7 separate regions of the Homo sapiens genome follow, and regions 1, 2, 3, 4, 5 and 6 are each linked to region 7. Evidence: promoter capture Hi-C in 16 types of primary human blood cells and fetal thymus (Javierre and others, 2016). All regions are on one chromosome and are shown on one strand. Each heading gives the region's core, a stretch centred on a gene start or on the middle of the fragment in contact. The rest is flanking DNA. Distances are from core to core; before and after follow the strand shown. Region 1 holds the start of SGTB (small glutamine rich tetratricopeptide repeat co-chaperone beta). Region 2 holds the start of FEM1C (fem-1 homolog C). Region 3 holds the start of LMNB1 (lamin B1). Region 4 holds the start of CENPK (centromere protein K). Region 5 holds the start of ADAMTS6 (ADAM metallopeptidase with thrombospondin type 1 motif 6). Region 6 overlaps DIMT1 (DIM1 rRNA methyltransferase and ribosome maturation factor). Region 7 holds the start of ARRDC3 (arrestin domain containing 3).

Region 1 (3,120 bases), core at 516-3,015, about 26 Mb before region 7:
AGTGCTGGGATTACAGGCATGAGCCACCAAGCCTGGCCCTGGTTTTATTTTCTCACTTGTTAAATGGGGATAATACTAACATAACAGTTGCTGTGAAGAAAAAATTGCCTATAATATGAACAGCATACTTCTGACATATAGTATTTGTTCAATAAATGAACAATAGTCCTCTTAATTTGTTGTTAAAACAAACAAAACAAGCTTCAGAAAATGGAAATACGATAACCTTATAGTCAGGCCTCTCCTCTTGAAAGATCAAAAAAAATTCTGATTATGTTACAATAGATCATCAAGTTGGGCTTACAGCTATTTTAGTCTTCGTTTATAATTATAATATAAATGAACACAAAGAGCAGATGCATACCTTCCAAACTTTCTTGTTCATCCGAGGTGTAAGTGTCCATCTGACTTTGTTCCCGTAAGAAACGAATAACTGCATAAACCAGGTGCTTGATAGATGACATTTTAGAAGCTTAAACACTTTTCCTTGATAAGAAAAATGAAAACACTGAACTAAGTTATTTTAAAGAATCAGTCAGGAAAGTCATAAATTACAAAGATGATATGGGTTATAAAGTGTATTAAAGGTAAAAACAAAACACAAAACTGTATGACCTTTCATCTTTTCTCTTTGTAAAGAGTCAGGAGAGCACAAAGTATTGTGAAGGTAATTTATTACATATTTTCATTAATACCCAGTGGTATACGAGTATGTTAAATCTTGGAATAAGTAAAAATGTCTTCAAAACATGTACAGCATAAGCTTAGACTGTCACTGCATATCTCACCATACAGAAATCCCCTAAAGGCCTCAGTACTAAGTTAAGAGGCATTTCATACTGCTGACTAAAAGCTGATGTATACCAAGCATCTTCCTCTTTTTCATGGGATCTAAAAAAAGTATTAATAATGTACACTCTACCCACTTTTGTAGGTTGAGAGTTATTTGATGAGGAAACACATTCGCGAAAGGTTATTCAAGTGGTGAGTGTCGTTCTTAATAAAAATGGCATTTCTATTTAATCAGCAGACATGTCAGGAAATCGCTGCCCAAGTCGATGGATACTACAAGCCGACCGGCGCTCCCTGCAGAGGCTGTGCTCTCGTGGACAAGCTGGAAGCTCCCGGTCATGTTCATTCACATGGAATACTATCGCATCCAAACAGTGGCGCAGGGCCAGGCGGCATTCATGGCTGATTTCCACCAAATCGCATCATCCATCTGCTCCCCAGGTTCCCTAATTCAAAGCCAGGGTGTGGTACCCGCCGCTATAATGTTTATTATTTGTGTAGTTATTTTAAAGGCGATGTCAGCCTCTAGGCCACGGGGTCATAAGCACTAAATAAGGCCCCAGGGCAGAAGGTAAAAACAGAATGGGGGGAAAAGGGGTGAGAAGAGGGAAATAGGCTTCTCCCCCTTCCTCTCCCCAGAGCGCATCGAGCTCCCCCTCCCTTCCGTCCTCCCTCAGGTACCCGGCCTCGCCTCGGCCCTGCCCGGTGTGCAGCGGGTGCCGGTGCGGGCCCCGGTCCGGAGCGGCGGGAGGCGCACCCTTGCCAGACAGAAGCCCCTTACCAAGCAGGAGGACGCGAGACGACTGCTGCTGGCCCGCGGGGTTCCGTAGGCAGGCCCGCCCGACCCCTGGTCCTCGGGGCTGGAGCCCGGCTCGGGATCGCAGCACTGGTCGCGGCGGCGCAAACTTCCCCGGCCCCTAGGCCGTAGACCCCAGAACCCACCAGGCTGTGCTCTCTCTCAGGCGGCAGGGTCTGGCCAGCACCGCCCCTGGGGCGGGGCCGGACGCGAGGGCTGGGGCGGGGCCAGACACGCGAGCTGGGGCGGGGCACGGCGCGGGGCGGGGCTGGTAGGCGCCGGCGTGGAGCTGCCGCACGTGGGAGGGCGCTGGCCAGGCAGCCACTGTGGCCTCTGCGGCTAGGCCGGCTCGAGACTCCCGGGCGCCCAGGCGCTGCCGCCCGCCTCGCCGCCCCACGCCGAAGGACCACGCGCCCGCCGCCGCCAGCCTCTCAGCGCTCCCATGATCGCCCGGTGCCTTTTGGCTGTGCGAAGCCTCCGCAGGTACCTCCAGCGCGCGGGTTAACCTTGGCCGTGGGCAGGGCGGGGTCTTTCGCCGTGTGGTGCCTGGAGCCCGGACCCACCCCTTCCCGACCGCGCCTCTCCGACGCTCCCGGGACGCACCCTCCCCGCGGCTTGCAAGGTGGACCCCTGGGGGACACCTGGCGCGGCCACCTGGGGCCACCTTTCCCGCCTCCGCTCCCTCGGGAGGACGTCCATTCCTCTTTGTTTGGGACTGCCTCAGCCGCAGTCAGCGAGGCTGGTCACAGACGCGGCCCAAAATGAATGCAAATAGTTTGGATAAGAAAATCATTTCACGTTCAATCCCAATGCAGAACTACAGACCTGTCATTAAAAGTGCCGCAGCTGTGGACTCAGAACAATTGTGTTTGCTCCTCGCGCCCATTATTAGCATTCCAATCGTTTAACATCCACCCGAGATGAAACCTCTTTGGTGGTGTTGCTTGTTTCCGTCCATGCTCTCTGACTTCCTTTTTTATTTTCCTCCTCCCCATAAAACAAACATTCTGCCTCTTGCCGGTGCAAATTGACTTGGCCCAAAATGGAGAAAATGATCGCTTGGACACGGCTTTGGGCAGCCTGAGCTGCTGTTTTGGATTGCTTCCTAGCCCTCTAACCACACCCCACTGCAACAGACCAGTAGCAAGATGGTGAGGGAATTAAATTCTTTGCACGGATGCGCTGGTTTTCGGAAACAATGCCGCCACCATCCCCGTTTCCAAATCTGCCCAGAACTGTAAATCCAAATGAAGATTCAACAGAATAAAGAAAATGTGTGCTTCTTGCTAGCTATCAACAAAACTACTTTGTAACATGTCAGCATTTAAGCTTTCTACAGTTCCCTTTTGCACATTGCCACTCGTCTGTGTGGATGGAGCTTTGTGTTGCTCAGTCCGTAGAGTTAGGGAGCAGGCAGGCGACAGTGGTTAATTACAAAGAGTTAATGTGGTGATTGGTGACCATATTTCAGCCTGTCGTTTTTTGCTAGTCTCCAGGCTGCAATCGATATAGCTGTCAAATGAAGTTATACC
Region 2 (2,835 bases), core at 198-2,697, about 24 Mb after region 7:
TGTCAAGGTGCCCATACCTGGCGGCCATCAAGAGTGGCGTGGCCCCATTTGTTTTTTCAGAGATCAAGGAGGAAACCTCCTCTTTGGATTTGCTTGCCAACAATTTGGTGAGAAGCCGGAGTTTGCCATCCCGAGCTGCGTTAAATACTGCTGTCTTTAGATCCATTTATGTCCAGTTGAGAGGCTGTGCTTTATTTATCTTTCAAAGCAGAGCTCCAGTTTAACTCTATCGACACAGGCAAGAGTCACAGGAACCAAAGTCCAATGTTAATTGCTGCACCCCAGAACGGATACACAACCACGAAGAGTATGTTCCGTCCTACTGCTTTCCAACATCTGACAACCAGGGCACCAAACTAGAGAAAGAAAAAAAAAGTAGCAGCATTTAATTTTCTATAGAAGAAGGCAAAACACTTCTTAATTTCCACTTCTGTGGGAAGAAAGGAATAAAAGCTATACTTCAGGCACTACTCCATCCCACACACCCCCCCCACCCCCAAAGAAAAGGTGGTAAAGAAAAATACAGAAGGATACACAGAGACCCAAATGTTCTGGTCGCAGGCAGTCTCCTCCATGTGCGGAAAATTTAAACACTACAGGCAGCCCGTTTTCTCGCCTCCAGCTCTAACCAGCCAAGCTTTGTTCTAGTTTTGCTTTGCACACGCCCAGGGAGAGTACAACCGAAAGAGGCAGGAGACTCGGGTTCAGAAATGTTTCTCTTTCTTGCAACTGCAGGAGAGCTGGCCAAGGGCGCCAGGCTGGAAGGCCTGAGGCCGGGTTTCGAGAAAGAACAAAAAGGTCGGACACACCAAACCCCGGCTAAGGCCAAAACTGTGCCCCGAAAGATTCTCTTTCCTTTAAAACTACTCACGGCTCTCAGGAAATCCGCCTGCCTTTTAGTCATTAACTTCGCCCGCCCCATTTCGATCACCCCCCACCCCCCGCCAAGGGATGATCCGCAGGTTCCTCAAACCACAGTCGCCCCAACACAACCTTCCCCTCTCCCTGTTCCAGACAACGGCAGCCCCCTCCCAATCTCCTCCATCGACCACAACCCCCTCCCGATGGGCCAAGCTGTGGCCTCCAGCCCGCTGCCCGCCTTCGGCTCCCCCGGCGCCCTCCTTCCCGCCCAGGCCTTCCGCGGGCACCTCAGGCCCCGGCCCGAGCCCTGGCAGGCCGCTGCCGCCGCCACTACCTGCCCGGGGACTAGTCCTCCCCGCCGCCGCTGGTCACTCGGGCTTTGTCCGTCCCCTTCAAAGGGAAACCGTTGTCCCCACCGCCGCCCGGGCCGCCCTGCTCCGCCTGCGGCCGCACAGCTCCTCCATGCTCCGCGCCCCAAAGGAATGAATCCGGCCGCGCTGTTCGCCACGCCCCGCCACCCGAGCTGCCTCCCGCCCTTAGTCGGCTCGGACTGCAGCGGCTGCAGCGACTGCTGCGACGGATGGTGTAATGGGCTGCGAGCCGGGGGCCGGACAAGCCTGAGCGTCACATCACTGACTGTGCCGCCACGCCATTGGGCCGGGGGAGGGCGGCGGCCGCGGCCAGCAACAGCCTAGGCGCGGGGCGGGGCGTCGCGGCCGGGGTGGGGCGACGGGGAGGGGGCGGGGCCTGAACTACTGGGAGGACGTGCCTGCGTGCAACGCGCTGGGGGGCGGGGCGCTGCGAGGGGGCGGATCTGTGCCCATCGAAGCGGCCCGAGGCAGCTCGAGTTCTGAGATCTCGCTGGCTCTTCTCCTCTCGGATTTTCGGGGTGCTCCCTTAGGGAATCTTTCGGTCCCATCTCAGAGACCCCAGAAGGGAAGTGTATTAGTGCGTTTTCACGCTGCTGATAAAGACATACCCGAGATTGGGTAATTTATAAAGATAAAAAGATTTAATGCACTCAGAGTTCCACGTGGCTGGGGAGGCCTCACAATCAAGCCAGAAGGGGAAAGGCACGTCTTACATGGCAGCAGGCAAGAGAGGAAAATCAGAGCCAAGGAAAAAGGGAAACCCCATATAAAACAATCAGCTCTCCTGAGACGTACTCACTACCACCAGAGCAGCATGGGGGAAACAGCCTTCTTGATTCAATTATCTCCCACTAGGTCCCTCCCACAATATGTGGGAATCATGGGAGCTAAAATTCAAATTTGGGTGCGGACCAGTATTACCCTCACACACGTGAAGTCTCTCGGACTAGTCTTCCGTCCTTACTTTGGTGGGCCCTGGAAATTACCAAGCTCGTAATTACACCTCAGAACACACACGGAGGAAACTGAAATTTCAGAAAATGTGATTAGTTTTGGAGGCTGTCAAACTGACTCTCTTTCTAAAGTAGCCTCTAAAAAGCATAAAGGCTACGAGGAATGGTAAACCCTAAGAGCAATGTAAAGTCAATGAGGTCAGGTTCTTGAGCTCTGAGTAATAAATCGGGAACTAAAGCTTAAAAGGTTATATATATGAATGAAAAGAATTACTTCTTCATATAGTAGTTGATAAACCTCTGGAATTTGATGCTAAAACCTACGTTGCATTAAACTAGGATGAAAAAGTTTAAATGTGTTTGGGAAATAACGCCCATAATGAATCCTGATGAGAAAACAGAATTTTTGAAAATGGACCTTCAATCACTTTGTTTGAGGGAACTTAAGCTCACATAATTCCTTAGTACCACTAGGAGAAATAGAATATTACAGTAGGCAGTCTGACCCTCAGCATATGTAATCCATAACGTTATGTTAGAAGTCATGCAGCACTAAAAACATTTATAAAAAATCACAACTTCATTTTTGTATATTGTAGTGTTGTTCAGAAGTTTATGTAGTTTTGCATAATTGAAATAATTTTCATACA
Region 3 (3,074 bases), core at 438-2,937, about 35 Mb after region 7:
GATGAATATGCAGCTCCCAGTGCTCTTCACTAATTCTTATGTACATGACTTGATTAACAGTTAAAGAATATCCTGGTCTCCATTTCTGCCATTTTAAAAGTAAGTAACCATTAATTACAGAAGCGTTCCTAATAGGTGGTAAGGTGGTCATCTAGGGTATAGCTAAGGGCCAGACTCGAGTCAATTAGAATCCTGGGACCTGTCAAACGCAGTCCTGCGGAGCAGCCTTCAGACAGTGAATCTATAAAATGGATGGTTTCTTTCTTTCTTTTTTGAGACGGGGTCTCCCTGTCACCCAGGCTGGAGTGTAATGGTGCCATCTCGGCTCACTGCAACTTCCCCTTTCCGGGTTCAAGGGATTCTCCCACCTCAGCCTTCCAAGTAGCTGAGATTACAGGCACCCGCCATCATGCCCGGCTAATTTTTGTATTTTTGTAGAGACGGGGTTTCACCATGTTGGTCAGGCTGGTCTTGAACTCCTGAGCTCAGGTGATCCTCCCCCACTCGGCCTCCCAAAGTGTTGGGATTATAGGCGTGAGCCACCGCGCCCGCCCGGATGAATTTTCAAATAGAAACAATCCAGTTTCCCACATCACACGGAGATTGTGTGGATGGGTAATCCATGAAAAGCCTGGTGCTGGCACTCAGTCCCAATAAATGTTAGCTAAAAATTAGGAACTTTTCAAAGGGATGAATGTGCTTTCTAATAGAAGTAGCTGCCAGTGACATCTTGGGAGCCTCTTTTTAAAAGCAAAAAATTATTTCATCTTAAATTTTCACAAGTTCAGATTTTTATGTACCTGATTTTAACGGAGTATGAAACAGCTTGCTCTCGTAGTTACTCACCGTCATATGTTAATCGTATCATTTCTGAGCTGTTTTTTGATTTTACAAACCCTTAAATTAAGAAACGGATTAGGAACCGCCCATTAACACTGTTGGCAAATGATTTAAAATCAGGGTTGCTGGTTTTTCTGTGATAATCTATCGGCTTCAAGACGCACAGATCTCACTTTCATGGAAAGAAGTTGCCTGATACAGTTTTCCACCGGAGAGAAAAATAAAGGCTGGTACTTGGAACCTGCAAGCCGTGCATTTGGAACCTCGGACTCAAGTGCCTATTACGTAATTCCACAGCGTCCCGGCCTCCAGGCCGTTTCCCGAGCCCTCCAGCGGAGCGGGGGATAAGGTTACCACGCCCGCGGTGGCCGGGGACACTCTGAGTTTCGCGTGTGGCTTTTAGGGACGTTTATATTTGAATTTCCCTGAACCGCCGAGTGTGGGCGGTGGCGCAGATCCGTCCCGGAAACCTCCGGGCTCCTTCCCGCCTTTCTCAGGCCCGGCCCCTCCAAGGGGTCCCCGCGGGGCGGCGGGAGGGCCCTGGGCCCAGAGCCGCGCGGGTGGGCAGTCCCAGGCGTCCTTCCTTACAGCCCTGAGCCTGGTCCGGGAACCGCCCAGCCGGGAGGGCCGAGCTGACGGTTGCCCAAGGGCCAGATTTTAAATTTACAGGCCCGGCCCCCGAACCGCCGAAGCGCGCTGCCTGCTCCCCATTGGCCCATGGTAGTCACGTGGAGGCGCCGGGGCGTGCCGGCCATGTTGGGGAGTGCGGCGCCGCGGCCCGCGCCACCTCCGCCCCCCGCGGCTTGCCTCCAGCCCGCCCCTCCCGGCCCTCCTCCCCCCGCCCGCCGCTCCGTGCAGCCTGAGAGGAAACAAAGTGCTGCGAGCAGGAGACGGCGGCGGCGCGAACCCTGCTGGGCCTCCAGTCACCCTCGTCTTGCATTTTCCCGCGTGCGTGTGTGAGTGGGTGTGTGTGTTTTCTTACAAAGGGTATTTCGCGATCGATCGATTGATTCGTAGTTCCCCCCCGCGCGCCTTTGCCCTTTGTGCTGTAATCGAGCTCCCGCCATCCCAGGTGCTTCTCCGTTCCTCTAAACGCCAGCGTCTGGACGTGAGCGCAGGTCGCCGGTTTGTGCCTTCGGTCCCCGCTTCGCCCCCTGCCGTCCCCTCCTTATCACGGTCCCGCTCGCGGCCTCGCCGCCCCGCTGTCTCCGCCGCCCGCCATGGCGACTGCGACCCCCGTGCCGCCGCGGATGGGCAGCCGCGCTGGCGGCCCCACCACGCCGCTGAGCCCCACGCGCCTGTCGCGGCTCCAGGAGAAGGAGGAGCTGCGCGAGCTCAATGACCGGCTGGCGGTGTACATCGACAAGGTGCGCAGCCTGGAGACGGAGAACAGCGCGCTGCAGCTGCAGGTGACGGAGCGCGAGGAGGTGCGCGGCCGTGAGCTCACCGGCCTCAAGGCGCTCTACGAGACCGAGCTGGCCGACGCGCGACGCGCGCTCGACGACACGGCCCGCGAGCGCGCCAAGCTGCAGATCGAGCTGGGCAAGTGCAAGGCGGAACACGACCAGCTGCTCCTCAAGTGAGTGCTAGCTGGCGGCCGCGTTAGCGCCAAGGAGGGGCGGGGGCGCAACCGCGGCGACCAGCTCACCGGGTTCTGCCGTGGGGAGGGAGCAGAGGCCAGGATGCACGCGTCCTTCTGAAGGAACAGGGTCTCGGTCTCCGGAAAGGAGAAAGAATCTAGAGTTCATAGCGGAGCAGGGGTCGCGGAGGGGGCTCGAGCTGTAGCGCTGGGGGGCCGTGATGCCCATTTCTAGATTTTGGATACCCGCTGGGACGTGGTAAGTGCGCGCCTGGGACTGCCGAGAAGGAGCTCCCGCTTTCGCACTCGAATCCGGGGAGCCGGCGCGGAGAGGCGGCCCCTCAGGCCCCAGGTGCGGGGAGCTGGAGCGCGAGCGCGCGCTCGCGTGCGCGCCCCAGTTTCCGGCCGGCGCGAGACAAAGCGTCTAGCGGATTTGCAGTGCCGGGATGGGCGGCCGGGGAGGACTGGCAGCCCGCCTCTAGAATGAATGAGCTTCGCGCGGGCAGAGAGAGGAAGGGGAGGGACCTTCCCGCAGCATCCGCGTCTCCTGGGGGTGGGTCCCGCTTTGGCGCGCTCAGTCTTGGCCCTGTGACGTTTTGCGAAGATTCTACGCCTGCTTTAGGCGGGAGAGAGAGGCGGAGCTTGATCCGTGCGC
Region 4 (3,154 bases), core at 372-2,871, about 26 Mb before region 7:
AATCTCCAGCCTCTAGACCTGTGAGAAATAAATTTCAGTTGTTTAATTAAAACACACACACACACACACACACTTAAGAGTTGAACTTTTCCCGTTCCCACATTTTGTATCCTTAAACCTATCTTCCTGGAAAGGGAACAAGTCAACTTTTTGAGGTCCCCAGTTAGGACTACAATACTTAATCATTTATTGAAGAAAAACAGTATCTCTTTATTTAGGGATAATACTATACTTAAAGAAACTCGTACTATTAATTGGGAAAAGATTAATATACATGAAATAAGCAAAAAATACCCACATAATTCTAAAATACATTCATTTATTCAACAAATATGTTAATGTGTGCCATTGGTCAGACACTGGCTTTAGCTGTGTAGATGAAAAAGTCTTTGTACTTGTAGAGCTTCCATTCTCATGCAGACAATATAAATGAATGGATAACTAAATACATGATATGATTTCAGGTAGTCAGAAGTGCTATGAAATGGTAAAGTATACAACACTGCCTGCAAGTACTATCGGAATTCAGGATAGGGAAGCTTAGAAAAACCAACCCGGAAGGAATTAGTCCATAATAATGCTTAATAAATGTTAACTAGCTACATTATTATTATCATTATCATTATCATCTTCATCCTCATTATTGCATTGGTCTCTGAAAGATGAGAAGCTGTAAACATGAAGGCTAAATCGCTGTGGAGATGCTTTCAAGCATAAAAACATAAGAGTAGGAGGCAAGAACGAACAAGGGAAATTTGTGAGACACAAAAGAAAGTAGTCTGATGAGAGCAGAGGGCAGAGAAGAAATGAGACTTGCTAGGTAGAATGGTCAAATAATGGGAACCTTTGAAATAAAATAAAGTGCCTACTATGGGGGGGCAGTTCCTTCCCTGTACGTGGTGCCTATCTCAAGGCAAAAGTAGAGAAGAGATTTACGACGAGGATTTTATTAGGTTGGTGCAAAAGTAATTGCAGAGAAAAAAGAAGTGTTTTACGGAGGTCATTTTGACAAGCTGTATTTGATTTTTTAAAAAAGAGATTAAGATAATACATTTTATGTTATGTGCTTTTTACCTAATTTTTTAAAAATGAAGAAGACAGATGAGGAGGAGGAGAAAGAGTTCAGATGACTGCTAGGAGATGAAATCCTATACCAGAGAGAAGAAAGAAGAGTGACCCGTTCTGCCCTAGGTCTTTTGGTTATTTGAAGTAGCTGCTTCTCCACCCCACCCCCAGAAACAGTAACAAGCACTCACCACCTTCTTCAGAGAGTGTGTGAGAGAATAAAGGTCAGGAGAGAAAACATGTTTAGTGCATCTGAAAGGAAACCCGCGAGTTAACCACTTCCTTCTGTCCCCACCCTTCCATCTTTCTCTAAATATTGGTGAGGTTATGGAGCTTGCGTTGGCGCGCGGGAAGCCGAGAAGAACGGGACTCAAAGCCCGGCTGGGAAGTCAGGTATCTAGTTGGCCGGCGATAAGGGTTTCACCTTCAGGACTGGAGCTCCACAAGATTCAACCGTTATATCAACCTCCCCGGCCCAGGTCTTACCATCACAGCGTCACAAACTCCAGGTCGCCTAGGCGCTGCGCAGGAAGCGCTTGCCAGCCCCGGACTTCTGCGCGCGCTGCATGCCCATTGGATGTGCTCATTCCCACCCCAGCCAATCCCGAAACTCGCTCGGACGCTGACAGAAGACTGCGCCGCTGCTTTGGGATTGGTAGCTGAGTTTTGTGTCGCGCCTTTTCTGACGATGCGAACAACATGGCGGCGGAAAGTGGTAGCGATTTTCAGCAGAGACGTAGAAGGCGCCGGGACCCGGAGGAACCGGAAAAAACAGAACTCAGCGAAAGAGAGCTGGCAGTAGCAGTGGCGGTGTCCCAGGAGAACGATGAGGAGAACGAAGAGCGCTGGGTTGGACCTTTACCTGTGGAGGCAACACTGGCCAAGAAGAGGAAAGGTAGCTGCAGACATAGTACCGGGACGAATTGGAGTGCTGCGTCCGCTGAGTAGGAGGGTTCAAGCCAGATCCGAAGAGGGATGATGTGTGGAGTTTTGTGCCCTCAGAACAGAGGGCCGTCCTCTCACTTCTGGCTACTCCATACTTGCATGTCTTAACGAAATAGTGATTTAAGCGTAGTACAACGTCTTTTTGATAATATCTAACACTTTTGATCATTGATTTGTTATGACAGATGCTAAAACTAACATTTTCCTATTCTTATGTGTTTGGCTCCTCTCATTTACTCCCCACAGCAGCCACATGAAGTTGGAATTTCGAACTCTTATTTAGGTATGCAAAAGGGTACCAGTTCTCTTTAAGGCTTTAGTTCAGGAGTGGTGTTAATGTATTAATGTGTTGGGGCGCGAGAGGAAGGCGGTGCTTATTTCGAATCATGGTAGGTAAAGATAATTTCAACTCTGACACTTCCACTAATAAATTTTCGCATCTAGGGAAAATGACGTAAGCTTCCTAGATCACAGATTTGTTTTCATCCAAAACCCGAAGTCTGTGGTTTTGAAATCACGCTCTTGATACGATGGGCTGAGTCTTTTTGTCACTAACGAGGAATAATCACAAATTATTATCAAATAAAAGGGGTGGGAAAAGGGGTAGATTAAGTTTTCTTGTCTTTGTTGTTTTGTTATCTTGTTTTTCTGTGAAATGTTTTCCTTAAGTATTTAAGACATTTTAAATGTGGTCTAAGCTCAAATCGTACTTTAGCACCTTCCCTTAAAAAACTTCAATGATTTGTCATTATTTTCTCTCTCTTTTTTTTTTTTTTTTTTTTTTTTGAGACGGAGTCTCGCTCTGTCGCCCAGGCTGGAGCGCATGCAGTGGCGCTATCTCGGCTCACCGCAACCTCCGTCTCCGGGGTTCAAGCGATTCTCCTGCCTCAGCCTCCCGAGTAGCTGGGGCTACAGGCGCACGCCCAGCTAATTTTTGTATTTTTAGTAGGGACGGGGTTTCACCATGTTGGCCAGGATGGTCTTGATTTCTTGACCTCGTAATCTGCCTGCCTCGGCCTCTCAAAAGTGCTGGGATTACAGGCATGAGCCACGGCGCCCAGCTCATTATTTTCATTAAAGCCCAAACTCCCTCACATGGCATATAAAGCCCTTTATGATGTGATCTCTCCTTACCTTCTTAGTG
Region 5 (2,791 bases), core at 115-2,614, about 26 Mb before region 7:
ATCTCTCGCTCACTTTTCCTCTAGTACAGGGAAAGAAAGCATCAAAGACAGGAATTGTAGCACATATTATCAGAAAGAGGCTTCCCAATACCCCATTCCTGCACTCTCACTCTCCCTCCTCAATCCCTGAACTTTGGTCCCATACACCATATATACAGACCTACCCCGATAAACAAGGCTCCGGAGGGTTATGAGTCTAGCACGTCCCAAGTGGCCAAAAGTAAATCAAAAACACACGTTTCCATCTCTTTGATTAGCCTATTAAGAGCTTAACATGTCCTAGAGCATCGGGGCTACAGCTAGCACATTAATGCTACCCTCTGAGCCCAGGCATAAAATATGCACTTGTCTGAAGACTTAACGACACTGACATGAAACTACAAAATGCATAAGACTTTTCTGTAAGAAAACTGGAAATCAATTTAAAACACACACATCATTATTACCTTCCGGATTACTATTTGGTGATCAGTTAAAAGATTACAATAATCATAATCAAGTCCACTTCACAAAACATGTATTGTATATTCATAAAATAAACGTATTTTTTTTGCATCATAAAATAACTGCAAGTCCCAGAATTCTACAACCCCCGACAAGTCTGGAGTTAAAAAGATATCTATTTGTAAAATGAGTTCAGTCAAGCTCACTCATTGCCATTAAAAAAAAAAAAAAAAACACACACACAGAAAAAAAGTTTTCTAAGCGTTATTCGGAAGACAAGCAAAGCACAAGTTGTTGGTTTAAAAAAAAAAAGCTCCATTGAATATTGTTAAGTCTTCCTTACCGTTTTCATCTTCAAATTCTGATAAAAAGTAAGTTTCAGACAATAGAGATTGCACTGGACGACTCACGTACTCCCTCTCCTCTCTAACTTTTTTTAATTTTTTTTATTTTTTTATTTTTTGCCCCCCTTTGCAAAGCCACACCAGCCAGTTATTCTGCAGCCAGAATAAAACCCTATGGTCTGGCTAACCCGGGCTTTAGAGAACTGACTTTCCGATTTGGCAGAATAAGAGATGCCTTCAATACATCTAGGCTATCACTCTGAGATGCTGCCTTTGCAAACCCCCTTTCTCTCCCTCCCCACCCCCCAAAAAAGGAAAGGAAAAGAAAGAAAAGACGGGAAAAAAGACTTATTGGGGGTGGAAGTGGTGCCCTCTCTTCCTGGAAAGCTTAGTGCCTTTGCTATGCAAATAACATGTGCAGAGCATCAAAAGGTATCAGGAGAAAAGAAGACAAGAGGAGCAGGAAGGGCAGCAAAGTTTTGTTGAAGTAGCCCTAGATCTCACTACCGGCCCCCAGCCAACTTGAATTGCAGCAGGAGAAAATTTTGGCAGCTTTTCCTCGGAGGCAGAGCACACTGACGTCAGTCTGCAGATGTGCCTGGGCTGCGTCGGGTGCGCATGTGTCCTGGGTCGTCACGTGGAGGGGGAGGGGAGGTAGAGGTACAATCGGGGTAACCAACTACCAGCCATTCAGAAGGGCTTAGACAATGTCAACTTTTCCACACTGTGAATGAGAGAAATTCTGGCCTCTCTAACCTCTCTGTCCTATCTCATTCCGCCTCTTTTCCTCCTCCTCCTCTAAACTCTCTTAGAAATTCTAGCCTGGTTTGCTATTAGTTGTTTCTTGGAAAAATGAAGGGGGAGGGAGAAGGATGAATGACTTTAGATGGACTAATGTCACTGTTAAGATCTCTGGTGTCATTCTCCGTGTAATTTTATTTTTAAAATCCACACAATCAAAATGTTAAAACTTGCACGCAAACAGTGCCTCTGAGGAAACTTAAAGCTTAGATTCGTGCAGCAGGCACAAGACTCAGTAGCTACAAGTGTACAAAATGCCTGTGTTTTATACATACTTCAGCAAGTAAGGTTAGCACCAAAAGGGAAAGTAAACTAAAGTAAACTAATACCAGCACATTTTCCATTTGATTATCGACTTCAGGTTATGTGGAGCTTTAAAAGAAGAAGAAGAAGAAAAAAAAAAAGTAGGGGAGGAGGGAGCGGGGGAAGGAAGAGAGAAGCTTGCATTATTTCCAGATGAGGGTGAGACTGGATGGTGTTTTAAAGTGCAACCGGGAAAAGCCACAAGTGGAGTGTATTTTTTTAAGTCAGTCCATTGAATGAAACTTCAATGACTGCCCAAATGAAAATAAATCCGAAGTAGGACCCCACCACCAAAAAAAAAAAGGAAGGGAAAAAAACAGGAACCCTGCTGCGATCTCAAGATAAACAAACAAAACCTCAAAACTGGTTCTTCAACCTTCCCAATCCCACCCTCCCTCCCCCCTACACACAAGCTGCCAGTCCAGACTTTAAGGATAAAATACCGCTACAATGTAGCACTTTCACTTTCATTTGCTGAGAATGAAAGCCGCTGGGGAGAAAATGCCCAGTGTTTTCCATGTCCTAAGCAAGCAAACAAAGTCTGGCACATACATCGGAAACAGGAAAAAATGTGAAAATAGCTCAGGACAAATGTTGCCTTTCAACGGTGTAATCTGCTGCATCATTTATCTGTCTCTACCATTGAGTGTAGAATAGGGAGCTGTTTAAGAGTTTCCGAGGTTGGGGGCAGGGGAAAATTGACGCCTTGAAATTCCAGCCCTTAGTTAATGCCAAGTCAATTTCCGATGGTGAGAACCAGAAAGGAGAACTGGACCGGAGGGAAGGGGGTAGGAAGGATGATCTTTCTGAATACCAGCTCTTAAATATCAAGCTTCTGCTAACATTATTGCCCATTTGATTTTTTTTTTTCTTCCTACGCCGGAGGTAGTAGGTGTAAT
Region 6 (2,831 bases), core at 25-2,524, about 29 Mb before region 7:
AGAGGAACAGTTAGTATGATGTTCCTGAAAATGTGAGGACATACCTGATAAGGCAAATTTGCCACACAAGTATCAAAGAATGGCAAATCTGTTTTCAGCACATCACCCACCAGTACTTGAAGTTTGCTGGCCACAGGCCTGATGAGAAAAGAAGAAATGTAAAAAGAATGTTGTTTCATGAGATTGAAATGCACTTTAATTCTATTATGTATACTCACGTGCCCTGAACTCTTTTGTGAAGTTCAGCTACTAGCCTTGGGTCAAGTTCACAAGCAACAACCTAATTTAAAAAAAATAAAAATTATTTAGGTTAATTATGGAATATAAATCTTTTATTGTTATCCCAACAGGAACTCTTACATGATTTATGTGACAAACTTCTTCTCCCATTTCTACCATCAATATTCCTTTAATTATACTCGCATACTTCAAACAACAAACAAAAATGGGCCGGGTGCAGTGGCTCACGCCTGTAATCCCAGCACTTTGGAAGGCTGGGGTGGGCGAATCATGAGGTCAGGAGTTAAAGGCCAGCCTGGCCAACATGGTGAAACCCCATCTCTACTAAAAATACAAAATATTAGGCCAGGTGCAGTGGCTCACGCCTGTAATCCCAACACTTTGGGAGGCTGAGACAGGCAGATCACCTGAGGTCAGGAGTTCGAAACCAGCCTGGCCAACATGGCGAAACCCCGTCTCTACTAAAAATACAAATTTAGCTGGGTACAGTGATGGGCATCTGTAATCCCAGCTACTCGGGAGGCTGAGGCAGGAGAATTGCTTGAAACTGGGAGGCAGAGGTTGCAGTGAGTCGAGATCGCACCATTGCACTCCAGCTTGGGCAAGAGACAGAGACTCTTGTCTCAAAACAAAAACAAAAACAACACAAAATATTAGCTGGGCCTAGTGGTGGGCGCCTGTAATCCCAGCTACTCAGGAGGCTGAGGCAGGAGAATTGCTTGAACCCTGGAGGCGGAGGTTGCCATGAGCCAAGACTGTGCCACTGCATTCCAGCCTGGGTGACAAAGTGAGACTCCATCTCAAAAAAAAAAAAAAGCCGGGTGTGAGGCTGAGGTGGGCGGATCATGAGTTCAGGAGACTGAGACCAGCCTGGCCAACATGGTAAAACTCTGTCTCTACTAACAAATTCAAAAATTATCTGGGCGTGGCGGCACGTGCCTGTAATCCCAGCTACTCAGGAGGCTGAAGCAGGAGAATTGTTTGAACCAGGGAGTCAGAGGTTGCAGTGAGCCGAGATCGCGCCACAGCACTCCAGCCTGGCAACAGAGCGAGACTCCATCTCAAAAACAAACAAACAAACAAACAAACACCACCACCCAGAAAAGTAGACAACCAGATTATGTGAGAGTTCTACTCATATAATCAATAGAATCATGTTTCATCTGTCTCCATGCTTTGTAATTCAACAGATGATGAAAAAAATACACTACATGTCTCTGCAGTCAGTGTTGTTAGAGAAGAGCGTACAATGCAATTGCTCTTACTGTTAGTATGTCACATCTACTGAGATACACAATACATGGCATAGATAACTTCTCAAGTAAATGAAAATGGATGTCAAATAAGGCCGAAATTGAAATTTTATTGCAATTTCAGCTGAGGTTTCACTGACTTTATTTTTATTAAAAAATAATTTTTTTTAAGAGATGGGGTCTCACTCTGTTGCCCAGGCTGGAGTGAAGTGGCGCTATCATAGCTCACTGCTGCCTCGAAGTCTTGGGCTCATGGGATCCTCCCACCTCACCTTCCTGTGCAGCTGGGACCACAGGTGTGTACCAGCACACCAGGCTAATTTCCTTTCTTTATTTTTAATAGAGACGGGTCTCTCTATGTTGCCCGGGCTGGTCTCAAAACTCCTGGGCTCAAACAATCCTCCCACCTTGGCCTCCCAAAGTGCTGGGATTATAGGCGGGAGGCACCATGCCCAGCCTTTTTATTTTTTATAGAGATTGGGTCTCGCTTTGTTGCCCAGGCTGGTCTCAAGCTCATAGCTTTAAGCAATCTTCCTGCCTCAGCCTCCCAAAGTGCTGGGATTACAGATGTGGGCCACAGCTCCTGGCCCTACTTCTATATAGACCCTGTTTACATGGTAAACAATGTGTTTCTTACTCTGTTTGGCTCCCAGATCTATCTTTAGTTTTATTTTTATTTTTTGAGACAGGGTCTCACTGTGTCACCCAGGCTGTAGTGAAGTGGCAGGATCATGGCTCACTGGAGCCTCAACTTCCCAGGCTCAGGTAAACCTCCCACCTCAGCCTCCCTGCTAGCCAGGGCTACAGTCAGGCACCACCATGCCCAGCCAATTTTTTGTAGAGATGGGGTTTCACCATGTTGCCCAGGCTGGTCTTCAACTCCTAGGCTCAAGCCATCCACCCGCCTTAGCCTCCCAAAGTGCTGGGATTACAGGTGTGAGCCACCATGAAAGGCCCTCCCAGATCTATTATCCGCTTTTCTCTGCATCCTACAGATAATGCAGTTCAGCTCCCTTACCTTTCAACTTCTGGTTGGAATTGGCCAGTGAAAGGCACCAGCATTATAGGGTACAAAGGGGAGGCGTTGGGTATTTCCTTCCTAATTAAACTCCCTGTTGAGGCTGGGCATGGTGGTTCATGCCTGTAATCCCAGCACTTTGGGAAGCCAAAGTTGGCGGATCACCTGAGGTCAGGAGTTTAAGACCAGTGTGGCCAACATGGTGAAACCGCATCTCTACTAAAAATACAAAAATTAGCTGGTGTGGGGGCAGGTGCCTATAATCTCAGCTACTGGGGAGGCTGAGGCAGGAGAATCTCTTGAACCCAGGAGGCAGAGGT
Region 7 (3,044 bases), core at 348-2,847:
AATACTGCATTAAAAAGGAGAGGCACAAAAATTACATAACCAGTTTTAACATTATATTCTTCTTGGGCTAGGAATTAAGTCATCGCCACCACCTGACGCGTGTAACCAATCTGCTGAGAGCAGAACAAGCGCCCCTCCTCACCACCCCCCAGAACTGGTCCGAAACAGGATTGAACCGCTTCTAACAAAGGGTGGAAACTTAGAAAAACAAGCCTAGAGTCTCCTATATTTCCACAATGTAACCATTTAAACAATAGATTGGAAATCTCAGGACTCCTTCTCCTTTTGACAACCCTTTATCTCTCTCTTCTAACCAAAAATCAAATCCAGTGTGCCCTATACTTTTCAATTCCATTTGACTGGCATGGGTTTCATTGAATGCACGTTCCAAAGTTAGACATGATGCTCGGAAAAGAAAATTACTGATCCTAAATGGCTTCTAAACCTGACTCGATACCTATCATAATGACAGATAGTCATTCCTTTAAAATAAGGAATGCTGGGTGTAAATTTTTAAAGGAATGGTAAAGAATAGAGAAAAAACACGTGGGGTGTTGATACCATATGTCAAAATAAGCCACAGAAATCTTTTATGAAAGAACAGTCATCAATTATTTAAAGTCTTTTGCATTCCAATATTAAAAATGAAACACACCCATTAAGTCTCTTAAAAATGTTATTACATTTCTTGATCGAAGTTCAGTTTTTACATCTTAGGTTGCAAGTAAAAGGGCAAAAATCTAAGACTGCAGCTTTTACCAATTCATTTGAAAATATATTAGTAAAACGACTGAATTGGATTCAAACAGAATTTATAAGTAAGGTGCAAATGGACTACAAGTGCGTGTGGCACAGACCGAGCCGGGTACAGAGGTAGCTGAATAAGTGTAGTTTGCAGTCACTTTGCAGATGCCTGCATGCATTACGGCTTAACACACGATGAACGTCAAGGAGAATCCAAACCTTCCAACTTTGCTAACCTTTCTCAAACTGCTTAGTTATGCTAGGAGTAGAATCACGTTAATTCAGAAAACTGAAAAGGTACGTTTCCAAAGAAAATGAGTCCAATGACTTATGAATAACAAAAACTTACCTCTTTCGTGCCCAATTAAGATGTCTTTATGGTTGAAATACTCTACTTCTTCAGTGTAATTCTGTGTATAGGCAGTATTGGAGCCGGCGTTTCTAGATTCAGTCCAGCGTACTTTCGCATGTCCTCTTGCATGAATTTTAAGAGATTTTACTCTGATTTCCCCAGTAACTTCTAAATTTACCCTTCCTGAGACGGTATCCCCACTAGAATACACAGGGACATTGCTGTCATTAAGACAGTCAAAGCTTATTGTCAAACTCTTCACCTTTCCCAGCACCATGTTTATAACAAAATCTATAAAAATATAATGTAAGACAAAAAAGTCAAGATCGCATATAAAATGTGATCTTCACTTAACACTGATCGATATTTTTGCCGTGCAAAATGCTTGCAGGCCGGATCAGTGATTCTCTACAAATAGTTCATTGAGATTTCTTAAAAAGTCAGGGCAGCAGAGGCTGCTGCTCCGCGCTCCCGCTCGTCTCAGTGGTCTCCTTACAAAGACGGGCGGCTAAAAGCTGCCAGCTCACTTTAAGAGCAGCTTTGTGAAAAACAACCCCAGTGCGCAGGCGCAGGCCGCGGCTGCTGTCCGCCCTCCCTGCGCGCCCCCTCCCGCGCCGCGCCGCGCCGCGCTCGCTCCCTTGCCCGCTCGCTCCCGGGTACAGTAGGTGTAGAGCTAGGGGAAGGAGATACTGGAGCTGCTGGCCGGCTGAACCTGACTTCTCTTCATTGTGGGCTCCTATTGGTAGGCAGGCTACCGTATACCCTCGACGTGCTATCTGGAGCCCGTTACCGAGCGCACTCTACTAGAAAGATAATGGCAGAGTGGGGTGCGAGGGTACAAGGGCTGGGTGGGGAGTTTGCAAAGCCAAGTTAGGATAAACTGCAGCGACCAGCCCGAAGCGTGCGTTACCGGCACTGCAGCGTTTTACCAACTGCCTGGATGGGAGGAGGAAAAAGTGATGTGTGAAGAGAGATGGGGGAAGGGAGAAACCGGTTGGGCAAGCGGCCGATTGTTGAGCATAATCTAACGAATTTCCAAAGAAAACGTAATAAAACCGGACAAGAAATATTGTTCATAGACAAGAGCATACTTTGCTTGGATTTTTTTTTTTTAAACCAGTACTTTGTAGGCAGGTTGGAAATGAACTCAGTCGAGGTCAAAGGAACCTTAATCCTTTGAAGAGCGAGGTAGAGAAGCAAGTACAATGTAATCAATAGGCTTTGCTGTCTCCTCAACTTCTTTCTCCTACATTGCTTAATTAGCACCGAAAAACAACCAAGTTGTTTCCAGGATGACACGGGTGGGGGCTGGGGGAAGCTTGATCACTTCCTCGAAGGAAGAAAAAGTCCTTTTAAGACACCACCTACGGCTAGATTTGCAGAGTAAGACATGATTACAACTCCTGTGTCCAGAGGAATAAGAATAGAGTTCGGCCTAAAAAAGTACTACCTTATAAAAGGCATATGACATAGTGGTTTAGCTGACATATTGTTTGCAACAGAATCGGAAAATCTTTGTTAGAAATTAGTGAAGCGCATAAAATTGTTTTTAAAAAGCATGATTTGGTATATAAATAGGGATTTAACTGTGTGAAGCTTTAATTTTCGGCCGAGAGCCTTGGACCATTTAACGTAGTAATTCTCATGATACATCTTAAATATAGGTACATTTCTCTTTTTATTGTGAATGTTTGGTAAAAAATAGCAGTGCTTTCGTCACATCACACTGGGATTCAGAGCATAACAGCATAAACTCATCTAGATTACTGGCAATCAACAGAACTGCCTTACAAGAGAAATGTAGAAAGAAAAAATATGAATCTGGTGCTCTCTCTATATATATATGTATGACCAAAAATACCTTGGAAGATTTTTGGCTGTCCGTGTCTAAACGTTTTAGATTCTTTTGCGTAGTGTATATGGATAGGTTGAGCCTATGAGTCACAAT

Evidence for each region. The method cuts DNA at HindIII sites, captures the fragments that hold promoters and counts their contacts. A CHiCAGO score of 5 or more calls a contact.
Region 1: a contact is called between the fragment with the promoter of SGTB here and the fragment with the promoter of ARRDC3 in region 7, in 1 of 17 cell types (fetal thymus). The highest score is 7.1, in fetal thymus.
Region 2: a contact is called between the fragment with the promoter of FEM1C here and the fragment with the promoter of ARRDC3 in region 7, in 3 of 17 cell types (activated CD4 T cells, fetal thymus and naive CD8 T cells). The highest score is 10.6, in activated CD4 T cells.
Region 3: the fragment with the promoter of LMNB1 here is called in contact with the fragment with the promoter of ARRDC3 in region 7 in 2 of 17 cell types (non-activated CD4 T cells and fetal thymus); the score reaches 7.5 in non-activated CD4 T cells.
Region 4: a contact is called between the fragment with the promoter of CENPK here and the fragment with the promoter of ARRDC3 in region 7, in 1 of 17 cell types (total CD4 T cells). The highest score is 8.7, in total CD4 T cells.
Region 5: a contact is called between the fragment with the promoter of ADAMTS6 here and the fragment with the promoter of ARRDC3 in region 7, in 1 of 17 cell types (fetal thymus). The highest score is 11.7, in fetal thymus.
Region 6: a fragment that was not itself captured here is called in contact with the fragment with the promoter of ARRDC3 in region 7 in 1 of 17 cell types (total CD4 T cells); the score reaches 7.3 in total CD4 T cells.

The regions. Positions count from the first base shown.
Region 1 is chr5:65,720,344-65,723,463 of GRCh38, forward strand. It overlaps SGTB (small glutamine rich tetratricopeptide repeat co-chaperone beta), which reads right to left and starts at 1,766. Exons shown (of 11, transcript NM_019072.3): 1 at 1,574-1,766; 2 at 365-486. The coding sequence starts at 464. It overlaps NLN (neurolysin), which reads left to right and starts at 1,862. Exons shown (of 13, transcript NM_020726.5): 1 at 1,862-2,071. The coding sequence starts at 2,031. RefSeq lists silencers at 1,337-1,386, 1,447-1,496, 1,567-2,176 and enhancers at 2,453-3,120, 3,047-3,120. The HindIII fragment of the contact is 2,154 bases long and covers 762-2,915 here.
Region 2 is chr5:115,543,328-115,546,162 of GRCh38, forward strand. It overlaps FEM1C (fem-1 homolog C), which reads right to left and starts at 1,448. Exons shown (of 3, transcript NM_020177.3): 1 at 1,196-1,448; 2 at 1-356. The coding sequence starts at 166. RefSeq lists enhancers at 997-1,763, 1,305-1,599 and silencers at 1,029-1,198, 1,249-1,298, 1,399-1,738. The HindIII fragment of the contact is 1,787 bases long and covers 636-2,422 here.
Region 3 is chr5:126,775,449-126,778,522 of GRCh38, forward strand. It overlaps LMNB1 (lamin B1), which reads left to right and starts at 1,688. Exons shown (of 11, transcript NM_005573.4): 1 at 1,688-2,419. The coding sequence starts at 2,061. It overlaps LMNB1-DT (LMNB1 divergent transcript), which reads right to left and starts at 1,038. Exons shown (of 4, transcript NR_134485.1): 1 at 847-1,038. RefSeq lists silencers at 465-514, 1,165-1,814, 2,015-2,094, 2,405-2,454, 2,665-2,774 and an enhancer at 1,449-2,249. The HindIII fragment of the contact is 4,360 bases long and covers 1-3,074 here.
Region 4 is chr5:65,561,547-65,564,700 of GRCh38, forward strand. It overlaps CENPK (centromere protein K), which reads right to left and starts at 1,622. Exons shown (of 11, transcript NM_022145.5): 1 at 1,552-1,622; 2 at 1-18. It overlaps PPWD1 (peptidylprolyl isomerase domain and WD repeat containing 1), which reads left to right and starts at 1,750. Exons shown (of 11, transcript NM_015342.4): 1 at 1,750-1,960. The coding sequence starts at 1,765. RefSeq lists enhancers at 877-1,538, 1,259-1,398, 1,539-2,199. The HindIII fragment of the contact is 1,930 bases long and covers 538-2,467 here.
Region 5 is chr5:65,480,556-65,483,346 of GRCh38, forward strand. ADAMTS6 (ADAM metallopeptidase with thrombospondin type 1 motif 6) reads right to left here and starts at 1,365. Exons shown (of 25, transcript NM_197941.4): 1 at 788-1,365. RefSeq lists enhancers at 1,118-1,477, 1,245-1,744, 1,518-1,567. The HindIII fragment of the contact is 619 bases long and covers 1,174-1,792 here.
Region 6 is chr5:62,398,602-62,401,432 of GRCh38, forward strand. It overlaps DIMT1 (DIM1 rRNA methyltransferase and ribosome maturation factor), which reads right to left. Exons shown (of 12, transcript NM_014473.4): 4 at 219-280; 5 at 45-138. Among named protein-coding and RNA genes, the nearest start is that of DIMT1, 3.9 kb to the right of the region's middle. The HindIII fragment of the contact is 6,457 bases long and covers 1-2,831 here.
Region 7 is chr5:91,381,720-91,384,763 of GRCh38, forward strand. It overlaps ARRDC3 (arrestin domain containing 3), which reads right to left and starts at 1,598. Exons shown (of 8, transcript NM_020801.4): 1 at 1,094-1,598. The coding sequence starts at 1,373. All of the region lies in intron 1 of ARRDC3-AS1 (ARRDC3 antisense RNA 1), which reads left to right. RefSeq lists a silencer at 1,505-1,814 and enhancers at 1,668-2,185, 2,065-2,364. The HindIII fragment of the contact is 1,076 bases long and covers 1,337-2,412 here.